4 separate regions of the Homo sapiens genome follow, and regions 1, 2 and 3 are each linked to region 4. Evidence: promoter capture Hi-C in 16 types of primary human blood cells and fetal thymus (Javierre and others, 2016). All regions are on one chromosome and are shown on one strand. The core of a region is centred on a gene start or on the middle of the fragment in contact, and the rest is flanking DNA. Distances in the headings are between cores, read along the strand shown. Region 1 overlaps ADD3-AS1 (ADD3 antisense RNA 1). Region 2 has its middle 81 kb from the start of DUSP5-DT. Region 3 overlaps ADD3 (adducin 3). Region 4 holds the start of MXI1 (MAX interactor 1, dimerization protein).

The links. Contacts are between HindIII fragments. The CHiCAGO score rates a contact against its expected background, and 5 or more counts as called.
Region 1: a fragment that was not itself captured here is called in contact with the fragment with the promoter of MXI1 in region 4 in 8 of 17 cell types (naive B cells, total CD4 T cells, erythroblasts and 5 more); the score reaches 8.0 in naive B cells.
Region 2: a contact is called between a fragment that was not itself captured here and the fragment with the promoter of MXI1 in region 4, in 2 of 17 cell types (naive B cells and fetal thymus). The highest score is 5.5, in naive B cells.
Region 3: a contact is called between a fragment that was not itself captured here and the fragment with the promoter of MXI1 in region 4, in 2 of 17 cell types (naive CD8 T cells and activated CD4 T cells). The highest score is 7.0, in naive CD8 T cells.

The regions. Positions count from the first base shown.
Region 1 is chr10:109,986,003-109,988,716 of GRCh38, forward strand. The region is part of intron 2 of ADD3-AS1 (ADD3 antisense RNA 1); the gene reads right to left. Among named protein-coding and RNA genes, the nearest start is that of ADD3, 21 kb to the right of the region's middle. RefSeq lists an enhancer at 1,343-1,844. The HindIII fragment of the contact is 9,885 bases long and covers 1-2,714 here.
Region 2 is chr10:110,414,058-110,416,829 of GRCh38, forward strand. No RefSeq gene overlaps it. Among named protein-coding and RNA genes, the nearest start is that of DUSP5-DT, 81 kb to the right of the region's middle. RefSeq lists enhancers at 187-1,386, 561-690. The HindIII fragment of the contact is 1,542 bases long and covers 616-2,157 here.
Region 3 is chr10:110,023,698-110,026,812 of GRCh38, forward strand. All of the region lies in intron 1 of ADD3 (adducin 3), which reads left to right. Among named protein-coding and RNA genes, the nearest start is that of ADD3-AS1, 17 kb to the left of the region's middle. The HindIII fragment of the contact is 8,514 bases long and covers 1-3,115 here.
Region 4 is chr10:110,205,895-110,208,956 of GRCh38, forward strand. It overlaps MXI1 (MAX interactor 1, dimerization protein), which reads left to right and starts at 1,711. Exons shown (of 6, transcript NM_130439.3): 1 at 1,711-2,188. The coding sequence starts at 1,915. RefSeq lists an enhancer at 1-292 and a silencer at 1,882-1,961. The HindIII fragment of the contact is 6,685 bases long and covers 1-3,062 here.

The DNA.
Region 1 (2,714 bases), core at 178-2,677, 220 kb before region 4:
AGCTCTTGGTCATGAAATCCTTGCCTAAGCCAATATCTAGAAAGTTTTTTCTGATGTTATCTTCTAGAGTTTGTATAGTTTCAGGCAAAAGCAACCAAGCTGAGAAATCAAGATCTCAACTCCTTTTACAATAGCTGCAAAAAAATTAAATACTTAGGAATATACCTAACCAAGGAGGTGAAAGGCCTATACAAGGAAAACTACAAAATACTGCTAAAAGAAATCATAGATGACACAAACAAATGGATCAACATCTCATGCTTATGGATGGGTAAAATAAATATTGTGATAATGACCATACTGCCAAAAGCAATCTACAAATTCAATGCAATTCTCATCAAAATACCACTATCATTCTTCACAGAACTAGAAAAAAAATCTTAAAATTCATGTGGAACTAAAAAAGAGCCTGCATAGCCAAAGCAAGACTAAGGAAAAAGAACAAATCTAGAGGCATCACATTACCTGATTTCAAACTATACGATAAGGCCACAGTCACCAAAACAGCATAGTACTGGTATAAAAATAGGCACATAGACCAATGGAACAGAATAGAGAACCAAGAAATAAAGCCAAATACCTACAGCTAACTGATCTTTGACAAAGCAAACAAAAACATAAAGTGGGGAAAGGACACACTATTCAACAAATGGTGCTTGGATAATTGGCAAGCCACCTGTAGGAGAATGAAACTGGATCCTCATCTCTTACCTTATATAAAAATCAACTCAAGATAGATCAAGGACTTAAATCTAAGTGCAGGCTTTATTTTCATTTAATTTTATTAACTTGTTTGCTTTTTATTATAAAAGTAATATATACTTATGTTTAAGTTGACTTTGGCTGGGAGTGGTGGCTCGCCCCTGTAATCCCAGCACTTTGGGAGGCCAAGTTGGGTGGATCACTTGAGATCAGGCATTCGAGACCAGGCTGGTCGACATGGTGAAACCTCTTCACTACTAAAAACACAAAAATTAGCTGGGTGTGGTGGTACAATTAGCAATTAGCACCAAAATGAGCATCCTTGTGTTTGTATCTTTAAGCACTTATTTGATTGTATTTAGACGATAAATTCCTAGAGTTACTGGGTCAAAAGACACATGCATTTTACATTTTTATAGATATCCTCCATGGACCTTAGTACCAGACAAAGCTGGGATTGAATCTGTACTCTGATACTAGCTGTGTTGCTTCAAACATGTTACTTTATTCTTTCTCAGCCTCAGTTTCCTTGGCTGTAAAATGGATATAGATTATATCTCAGAGTTGTTCAAGGATTAAACAATATGTTTAGTTCAAAATGGTTAGCAGTTCACATATATTCATACCTTTCTCTCCTCTTTATTGTCCCTCTCCTAATTCCTCTCTGAGTTTTTGCAAAGATTTGGCAAATATCCCATTTCATTTTATGTCAACAAATATTTATAAAACATTTAATATGTGCAAGTTTTGACAAACGCTGTAGGGATTCTAAATGTTTTCTTTTAAGGCACAGTCCTTTCTGGAACTTACAGTATTGTACAGGAGAAAACTATCTCCCAGGTCCTACAATAGGGCAGGCCCTTACTTAACATGTTTGGAATGAGTGAGTAAAGAAAGGAAGGAATGTTGCTGAATGAGTAACACCACAGTCTGGAAAAGAGCTCAGTGTAGGTCCTAGCAGCATAGAGTGGAGCATGGAGTCAAAAGTGACGGAGATGAGATTTTGCAAAACTTTTCTTCTGGATTTTACCTAATCACAAGGGAGGCATTGGGGCTGAAGGCCAAAAAAGCATTTGCTAGAAATATACTTAAAGTCTTATGTTTTAACTTAAAACTTCACATGAAGTTTGCATTCTACTCCATAACACATTGTTTGTTTCCAAATAAATGGAATCTTTCTCCTCAGTCCTAGCATAAAATGAACATTCCAAGAAAATGTACTATATTTATTGGGTGGCTCTAGTTCCTCCTGACATGCTTTCAGAGATATATACACCCAAGTTTGAGAAGCGTGAGATTAAGATAGATGCAGAATGAGTTCTCACTTCATGCTTCACCAGCCATCTCCCCTCTGTCTGTACTACACACCCACTCACAGCCTCATCCCTCTCAACTTTCTGCTAAAACTCTTACCTACCCCTGTTTTCTCTTCAATCCTGGTGTTGTTTTCCTTACCAATCTAAATTTTATGTTGACACTCTGCTACTCAAAATATATGTAAGAAAAAGAAATCAGCTACAAAACTCTTCCAACATCACTTGAGGTCATTAAAGTCTCAAGGGACCCTGTCATTCATCCACATTGTGTTAGCTTCTTCTGTCTCATCCCGGTCATCTATGACAATAGACTCTCAGAGAGATGTAGCTTGTTTCATTTAAATCTTGAAAAGCACCCAAACTAATGCTGTGGTCAATTAATGTTGCTTGGGTTCTGAGCATTCAGCTGAGTGTTCTCCTCTGTGTTTGAAGGACACTGTAAATGGAACACATGTTTTGAATTGCTTCTCCAGAGCTCTGATCTTTCCACCCCTTCTCTACCCCCACTGCTTGGGCTCTGGGTCAGTCCTCATCATCTCTTGTGTGGATTATTTCCCTAGCTCCTTCCATGGGTCTTCTTGTCTTTCTATTCTACCCTCCTCGAAGCTGCTAAAGTAGCTTTTCTAACCCAGAGGTCAGCCCACACTACTCCCTTGCTTAAAACTTAGGTGGCAACAATCTATAACCATGGGCAAG
Region 2 (2,772 bases), core at 137-2,636, 210 kb after region 4:
CAGACAGCTGCCTGAAGTGGGGTTGAATTCTTCAAATAATTGCCTCACTCCTCAGCTTCTGTTGAGCCTCTGGAGATATATCTAGAAGGTCAGGACTGTGCTTGCTTCCTGAAAAGTCTGGGGATGGAAAGAAGGGAGCACTTTTCATTTCCCAGGGCATAACGCATTGCAGAAAATGATCAGAGAGCATCAGCAGTCCTCCTTGGGTTCCACTGTATGTGGCCAGCGGCCAGGTTGGGAGGTCAGAGACAAAGGCAGACTCCAGTATAGACGCTCTGTGGCCTGCTTCTCATGTACCTGCTCTCACACACGTGTGCACACACACATACATGCATGCACCTTCTCTCGCCTCTCTCTTTAAGGTCTGGAAGAAAGCTACCATAAGTTTGAGCAGTTGGCCACATGGTCTCATTTGGGCTCTCAATTGGACTAGCAATTTCAGGAATTTGAACAGCAATTTTTGAACAGGGAGTTTGGGGAACGGCAGCAGGGGAAAGTTGGGAGGCGCAGAAGGGGTTGTGAAATGCATGCTACAATTCCGTCATCAGCCCCTTCCTGTTGTTCTGGTACCGGGGGGAAACCTGGGCTGGCAAGACTGCGCTTCCTCCATCTAGAAGCTTTCCTCAGGCCTGCTGAGTCACCCACCTGCTGCGGGGAATGCACCTATTTTTAGCCTGAGGTAAATGAGCCCTGTAGTCACCCAGACCACATTCTCTTGGGTGTCTTTGTCACAGATGGTGTGGCCGGATGGGGACCACATTGAAGAGACCTCACCCCCACCCCTAACAAGGTCTCTTCCTCTCCTTCCTCTGAGAAGCCTCACTGCACAGCAGTGACTCACATAACCCCAGGAGAGAATGCGGCAGAGGGTGGCAGTGGGTGGCATACCAAGCTAGTGGGGGTGTGGCGGGGACAGAAGTAGTTTATCACTGACGTTGATTAGAATTGCTGGTGCATCACTGTTAGTCAGTTTATTATTGTTTGTAATTTTTCTGTAGATGATATGACCTCTTATTGTACCCATGTGCACCATTCCTATGGCCCCGTCCTTGGGGACACCACTGCTTGGGAGTTAAGATGGTGGAGATCTGGACCCCAGCAGCCTGACTAAAGGAGGCTTTACTACTTACTAACTGTTTGACTCAAGCAAGACCCTTTACCACTCTGAGACCCAACCTTGGAGCTCCTGGTCTGGTACTCAGGTCACAGAGGCTGGTAATGGATTCACAGGATTGAGAGCAGGAAGGGCACCAAGATGTCATCCCTTGCTCTATTGAGGTGAAAATGGAAGCAAAGAAAGGGGCAGATGCTTGCCTGTATCAGATGTCCAGAGACCCCTCTAAGACCTTGTTCAGGCAGAGCCACCTGTTAGGTAAAAGGTTGGTAAAAAGCAGGTGCTGATGACAAGGCCACTGTTGGTCAGAACTATTTCTACTTCAGTCTGTATCCAGCCCCTGCACCCAGTATAATGTAGTAGAGTATTTCTCGGAGAAGGGTGTGTGGACCACCTGCATCAGAATTACCTGAATCCCCTGGGGTGCTCATTAAAACTGTGAGTTTCTGATCCCCATCCCAGACTTGGGGGTTTGCTCCCAGCACTGTCACTCACTAGCTAGGGAATTTGGGGGGTGTCAAACTATCTGTGTACCACTTTCCTCACCTATAAAATGAGGCTAAACCTCCTTATGTACATGTGAGGGACAAATGTATTTGCATGGGTGAGAGGTGCAGCCCGTCGCCTGGCACATTGGAGCTAGGCAACTTGTGATTTGAGTTCTTAGTATTTGTTTCTTATCCCCAGGCAGCTCCTGAAAGGCTTCACTCTTCTGCCCTGGTGCAGAAACGGGCCCTACCTCTTTCAGATTGGCCTGGAGCTGTCAGCTACCAGTGACTTCCAGAACCAACTTGCAAATGTCTGCCAATCAGTGGCACTGCTCAGACCAGAGCTCAGATAAGATGTTCTGCAGTCTGCTGAGAAAATCTTCCAACACAGTTGTGGGACACAGAAGTCACTCACCAGAAACACTGGTCATATCACTTCTCCTTATCTCTCTTCCTGGTGACGAAGCCCAATGCCTGTGAGATCTTTTTAAACAGAACCCTTTTTCCAAATAAGATTTGACCCGACACAGGGCCCCAGTGTATGTGAACAATAAAAGCTTCACTCCACTAGTTTAAATATATTTTCTAAGAAGTTCAAGTTTCCAACATGTTACTGTGTTACTTATGAAATCAGTGTGAACACAACTGAGGTGAGCTCCAGTGTGTGAAAATCACGTATCACTTCTAAATGTGCATGGTGCTGCTTATTACAAATATTCAAGTAGTTTAAAATACATTTTGGGCCAGGCACAGTGGCTCACACCTGTAATCCCAGCACTTTGGGAGGCCAAAGAGGGAGGATGGCTTGAGCCCAGGACCAGCCTGGGCAACATAGGGAGACCCCCATCTCTACAAAAAAATTAAAAATTAGCTGGGTGTGGTGGCATACACTTATTGTCTCACCTACTCAGAAGGCTGAGGTGGGAGGATCACTTGAGCCTAGGAGCTTGAGGCTGTAGTGAACCATGATCCATGCCACTGCACTCCAGCCTAGGCAATAGAGTGAGACCCTGTCTTAAAATAAATAAGTAAAAATAAATAAAATACATTTTGGGAATTATATTTGAATTGAGTATTCACAAAAGCCATGAAGCTCCCTTGGAAAAAGCCAAGATTTTGGTTAGCATGGTTTGCAATCCCTGGAGGATTCCAAACACCTTTTACTGGGTA
Region 3 (3,115 bases), core at 397-2,896, 180 kb before region 4:
TGACTAGTTCTTAATCTGCTTTACTGCTCAAGTGTTACCCAATCGTCCAGTCTTTAAATTTGTTTTCATTTATGAATTTGGAAGTGGTTGAATAGTCACCATTTTGGCTAAAGAATAGTCTTTTTGTTTACAAATGAAGGTGCTTCCCCTATGCTGTGTTTTTGCATTTAATTTTAAACTTTTGTGCATTGCATTATCCCAAGCAAATTAACACAGGAACAGAAAACCAAATACCACATGTTCTCACTTAAAGTGGGAGGTAAACATTGGGTACACGTGGACATAAAGACAGAACAGTCGACACTGGGGACTACTAGAGGCAGAAGAGAGGGAGGGGATAAGGGCTGAAAAACTGTCCAGCACAATGCTTACTTCCTGGGTGATAGGATCAATTGTACCCCAAACCTCAGCATCACACAATATACCCGTGTAATAAGCCTGCAGAGGTACACCCTGAATCTAAAATAAAAGTTGAAATTATAAACAGAACTTTTGTGCAATGGAATAACAAAAGAATTGAAGGCATTGGGCTTTGCAATATCAGGTATTGCATGTTGTCATTACAGGAAGTCATTGTGCCATCTTGGTTTCCCCTTAATAACATATGGTGGTTTATCTTGAAACTTCAAAAGTAAACATAGCGTAAGCACCTATAATAAATTATTGCCAAAAAAAATCACATGCAGAATTATTTTTGCTATGTGAATTTAGTGGAGAATCCAATCCAGTAAGACTTTTTGCACATTTGAATGGTGAAACAAGATGATTTGGCTCCTCTAGTAGCTTTGTTGCATGCACAGTTGACCATTTTTGTTTGTAGCTCCTTGTAATAAGATATTTAACACAGGGCTTTATATTGGGACATAGTGATTTTATAAATGGGTGGGAGAAAACACTGAATTTGACAGAACTAACTTCTAGATTATTTCAATGTAAAATTTTCATGCTTAAAATTTTTAAGTGTTAGATGTTTAAAATAACTTACTCAAAAGTAATTCTTAGTAAAATGAAAATCAGTGAAAAGCACTCAGTTTTTTAAAAGCAAGAATGATTTTATTGGTTTCAAAGTTAAACTTACTATTTGAATCAAATTTTTATAAAATCCATTTATTTTTTAAATACTTGAAATTTTGAGTAAGAAATATAAGGACATGGAACAAAATAAGGCACAAAAGCGTATACAGTGAAAAGTAAGTTGTCACCCCCAAACCACTCAAGTTTCCTCCTCTTTTCTTTTTTTTTTTTTTGGAGACAGAGTCTCACTCCATCACCCAGGCAGGAGTGCATTGGGTTCAAGTGGGTTCTTGTGCCTCAGCCTCCTGAATAGCTGGAGTTACAGGCGTGCGCCACCATGCCTGGCTAATTTTTTTGTATTTTTAATAGCGTCGGGGTTTTGCCATGTTGGCCAGGCTGCTCTTAAACTCCTGGCCTCAAGTGATCCACCCACCTCGGCCTCCCAAAGTGCTGGGATTACAGGTGTGAGCCACCGCACCTGGCTGTCATTTTATTAAAACGTTTCCTTTCCTAGCGTCCGTTCCACTAAGGCAGAGGTATAGAAAGTGGGAGGTGGTAGCTATAATAATCTTTCACTCATACTATAGTATAAATAATACTTTTTAAATTTAATAATACTAATTTAATTTAATATTTTTTTAATTTTAGTTCGATATTTGTGGGAGAGATGGGAATCTTCAGAGTGGTGGTAGCCAACTTCTGCCTCCATGGTTCAATTAAAAGCAAGTCCCCTAGTTAATAGAAGTAAGGGGTCTCTAGGCTTGCAAGTTTCTTCAGATGCTAAAATTATGCCTTTGTGTAAAATCAGACTTTCTGTTATATGAGTAGACGTAGGAATTCTCTGTATACTTTAAAGGAGAAGCAAATAGAAATAGAGAGGGTGATAAAATCTAGATTCATAGAATTGTGGAAACCTTACTTCATTTTAAGAGTGAAGAACCCAGTCTGATTAAAGGAAGTTCCGTGTTTAAGGCAACATGTTGCTTGTGGCAGATCTAGACTCAAAACTGAGATTCCTGCCTCTGTCCAGTGCTTTTTTCACTTCATTACATTACGAGCCATCTTAACTCCATTCATGCAATTCTGGGGTAAGGGGTTTTGTCAGAATTCCACCTGACCTTCCCTAGAGCAGGGTTTGGACAGGATGAGAGACCCCAATCTCTCAGATTTGAGGCTTCTTTTCAAGATATCTGTTTTTCCCTTTTCCTTAAAAAAGAAAAAAAAAATTTCATCGAATTTGGGAAAGTTTTGTGAAGTTTTTTCCAAAATCTGTAATGTGTCAGGATCTTTCTTGTTTTCTTAATAGAAGCCACACTGATATTATGTATATTGTTCCAATTTTAGTGTGCTCACCACTGAAGCAAGTCATGTACATGGTAAATGTTTCTGACATGTTTAGGAACATTATATAGAAAATTCAGAATGGATGTATTTGGCTGCCTTGACATTCCTTTTTCTTTTGGAAAGGAATGTATTTAAATGAGAAACAGTTCCACCCCTCCAATGAAAAGGAATAGTTTTAGGTCATTTGAGTGAAATAGATTATAGAACTTATGACCCCAGTTTTCTTGTTTTTTTTTTTTTTTTGAAACGGAGTTTCACTCTTGTTGCCCAGGCTAGAGTGCAGTGGCGTGATCTCGGCTCACTGCAACCTCAGCCTCCCGGTTCAAGCAATTCTCCTGCCTCAGCCTCCTGAGTAGCTGGGATTACAGGCACGTGCCACCACGCCTGGCTAATTTTGTATTTTTAGTAGAGATGGGGTGTCTCCATGTTGGTCAGGCTGGTCTTGAACTCCCGACCTCAGGTGATCCGCCCACCTCGGCCTCCCAAAGTGCTGGGATTACAGACGTGAGCCACCACACCCGGCTGATTGTACTTTTAAGTCAGTTTTAATAGGACCCAGGTACAAGGTCAAGGTACTTGAGAATTTTTGGATTTAATGTTTTACATTGGTTTAAACTGGTTGGAGTCTGGCTGTGTTTCCTGGTGACAATATTCATATTAAAAATCTTATAGGTCAGTTTTTATAAAAACTATGTAATATTTCTTTTAAGTTAATGATTGATTTTTTTTTTTTTTAACTTCTGGTGCCTTTGCCTGA
Region 4 (3,062 bases), core at 461-2,960:
TACAGGCATTTCAACACGAATAACTCAGGTTGTGGTTCTCACAGAAGCAAAAAATCAGTAATTGTTCTAATAATGGAAGATAAACTTTTTTTTTTTTTTTTTTTGAGACGGAGTCTGGCTCTGTCGCCCAGGCTGGAGTGCAGTGGCGCTATCTCGGCTCACTACAAGCTCCGCCTCCCGGGTTCACGCCATTCTCCTGCCTCAGCCTCCGGAGTAGCTGGGATTACAGGCATGCGCCACCACGCCCGGCTAATTTTGTATTTTTGGTAGAGACAGCGTTTCTCTATGTTGGTCAGGCTGGTCGCGAACTCCCAACCTCAGGTGATCTGCCCGCTTTGGCCTCCCAAAGTGCTGGGATTACAGGCGTGAGCCACTGCGTCCGGCCATCAAGAGTTTTTATGACAATGTGTATGAAGCTGCCTTTGAGTAGGGTGGCTGCATCGCACACCTCCAGGGGGCAGCATTGTCTTTGTCCTCTATATAAATGGTTCCCCTGGAGGAAAACTCCAGGTGACCTTGCAAAGTAACCATATTTAGATGGGCTTGTCATAGAGATATTTTCCAAGGAAGTGCAGAAGAGTCTTGTTCACTACATCTTGTTCCTTTCTTAGATACAAGTTACATCAGAATAGGGGACTCAGGCTCTTGCCTGGGTCTGGATTGGAAGAAAAAGAGCTTACCATGGGCCAGAGTGTGCTAAGTCAGATACAATACACAAGCATCTTATCACACATTTCAATGATGTGGAAACTTAGGCCAAGAGAGGTTAAGGGACTTGTCCAAGCTCACACAGTCTGTATGCAGCAGAGCTGGGATTTGAACCCTTTCCTATGGCACCCTAGAGCAGCCTTCAATCATCCCCTGACACCTCCAGTACTTCCCAGGGCTGGAAAGCATCCATGATTGCGGACAGCAGTGGCAGTGAAACAATGTCAGCTGGGGTAGGGGTTTTCAGAGGCAAAAGGTGGAATTCAGCTGGGGAGGGGGGTGGTTCCTGAGCTGCCACTTCTGCCTCTCAAATTAAAGGGAGCCAGGTGTGGAGGCATCCTGGTGTGAGCTTTGCACAGCTGAACCAAGGCTGGGCAGAGGAGTGTGGAGAGGGATGCTGACATCTCCTCCCACTTCTGGAAAATAACTTTGCATTTGAAGGGAGAAAGGCATGAGTAAATCTGTAACTCGGATTTGGACGGCCTGGGATTTCATTTGACTGTGTGAAGGCACACACAGGTGCCTCGCAAGTGTGTGCGTGATTACGTATGTATGTGTGTCTGTGAGTAGGAGTGTTTGTGTTGGGGGTGGGGGGATCTTCTGGTTACACACTGGTTCCCTTCTTCCCATTTGGATTGGGGAGCTTTTATTTATTTATTTTTAAGTCATAGCAGCCACCATGTATGGGGACCTAACTATGTGCCAGGCATTGTGCTGGACACTTTCTGAGGCATTATTTTTCTGTGAAAAAAGTAGTTTGTTTTTATGCAGGTGCACCCAGAGACATCAGGTATTTTTTTCCATTCCGGTTAAAAGACAGTGTTCTACTCTGTGGTAAGCCTTGGGGAGAGGCAGGGAAGCCTGCGGGGACGGGCAGGGGCGGTCCCTGCCTCGCTCGCTAGTCTCCACCTTTTATTTTGACCGGTCCGATGGCGACAGGCTCGCACTAGGACCCAGGCGCCAGAGTGCCTCCGTCTGTCCTGTAGGTTCATTCAATCTCCCATACACACAGACTCACAGCGAGACCGACACACACTCCCATACACTCACACACACAACTGCAGGCAGCGAGGCTCGGGAAGTCAGGCCGGCTTTTCGCCCCGGCGCCTTCTCTGCTCCAGCCGGCCGGGTCTCCCTGGGGGCCCGGAGCTCGGCCGGGCCGCGCAGCCCCGTTAGAGGACGAGCTCGGCGGACCCCCGCTCCTCCATGGGCAAACGCGGGCGGCCGCGCAAGGAGGCGCGCTGCGAGGGCGCGGGGCTGGCCCCCGCCGCGCCCCCGGCTGTGCCCCCCGCCGTGGCCGCGCCCCAGCCCCCGGCCCTGCCCGAGGACCCCGCTGGGGCCAAGCCCAGGTGCCCCTTCTCAGACATTTTCAACACCAGCGAGAACTCGATGGAGAAGCACATCAACACTTTTCTGCAGAACGTGCAGATTCTGCTCGAGGCCGCCAGCTACCTGGAGCAGATCGAGAAAGAAAACAAAAGTAAGTTTGGGGGCCCCTGCTCTTCCTCGGCGCCCGGTTCTTTCTTTCTCGCCCACTTGGGCGACCCCTGTTGCGAGCTCGGCCCGTCCCCCCCCCGCCCAACATACACATCCAGCCCTTGGCAGTAAAGCCGATGACACCGGAGAAAGGACACGCACGCACAAAGCTGCTAAAGATGTAACAAAGACGGGCGAGGGGGAGAGGGGCCTGTCGGTGCGTCGGTCTGTCCTCTCCGGCGGGCTGGGGCTGGGAGGATGGCCCAGCGGAGGAGCGGGGGAGTGTTGTTGTTTGCTGACAACTGAGCCGAGAGCTCATCTCTTTGAGGTCGCTTTTCTTCCTTTTTTTTTTTTTTTTTTCCGGAGCCTTCTCAGGCAGACAAGTGTTGTTTTTCTGTTGCTCGTTCCTGGGTGGGGTGGGGATTAGAAGCCGAAAGTTGGAAACCATAGGCAGAGCTCAGAGGTTCCAGAAAGAAAACACACAGACACACACTACAACAATAACAACCAAACAGCTCTCCACGGCGTGGGCTCGGCTCTGTCTCTCTCTCTCCCTCCTACTTCGCCTTTTTCCTTCCCTCTAGCAGCAGGACTGGGCTCAGGCCATCACGTCTACGGACACAGTCCCCCTGCACGTCCGTTGCCGTGGGGTGCCACCGCCGCCCCCCCCCCCCCAAAGAAGGAGGCCGGCGGGGCCAAGCAACGCCAGCAGCTCGCCCCGGACACGCCGTCCTGAGCCCGGGAAACTTGGCCGTGGGGACGCGGCTAGAAGGAAACTTTGGGATCTTTGAGAAACAATAGTTGGGGAAGAAGGTGTGGGCTGTTCTGTGCTTTTTCTTTATTTTCCGGGAGACGGCTCTTGAGTGAGCGCACAGGGC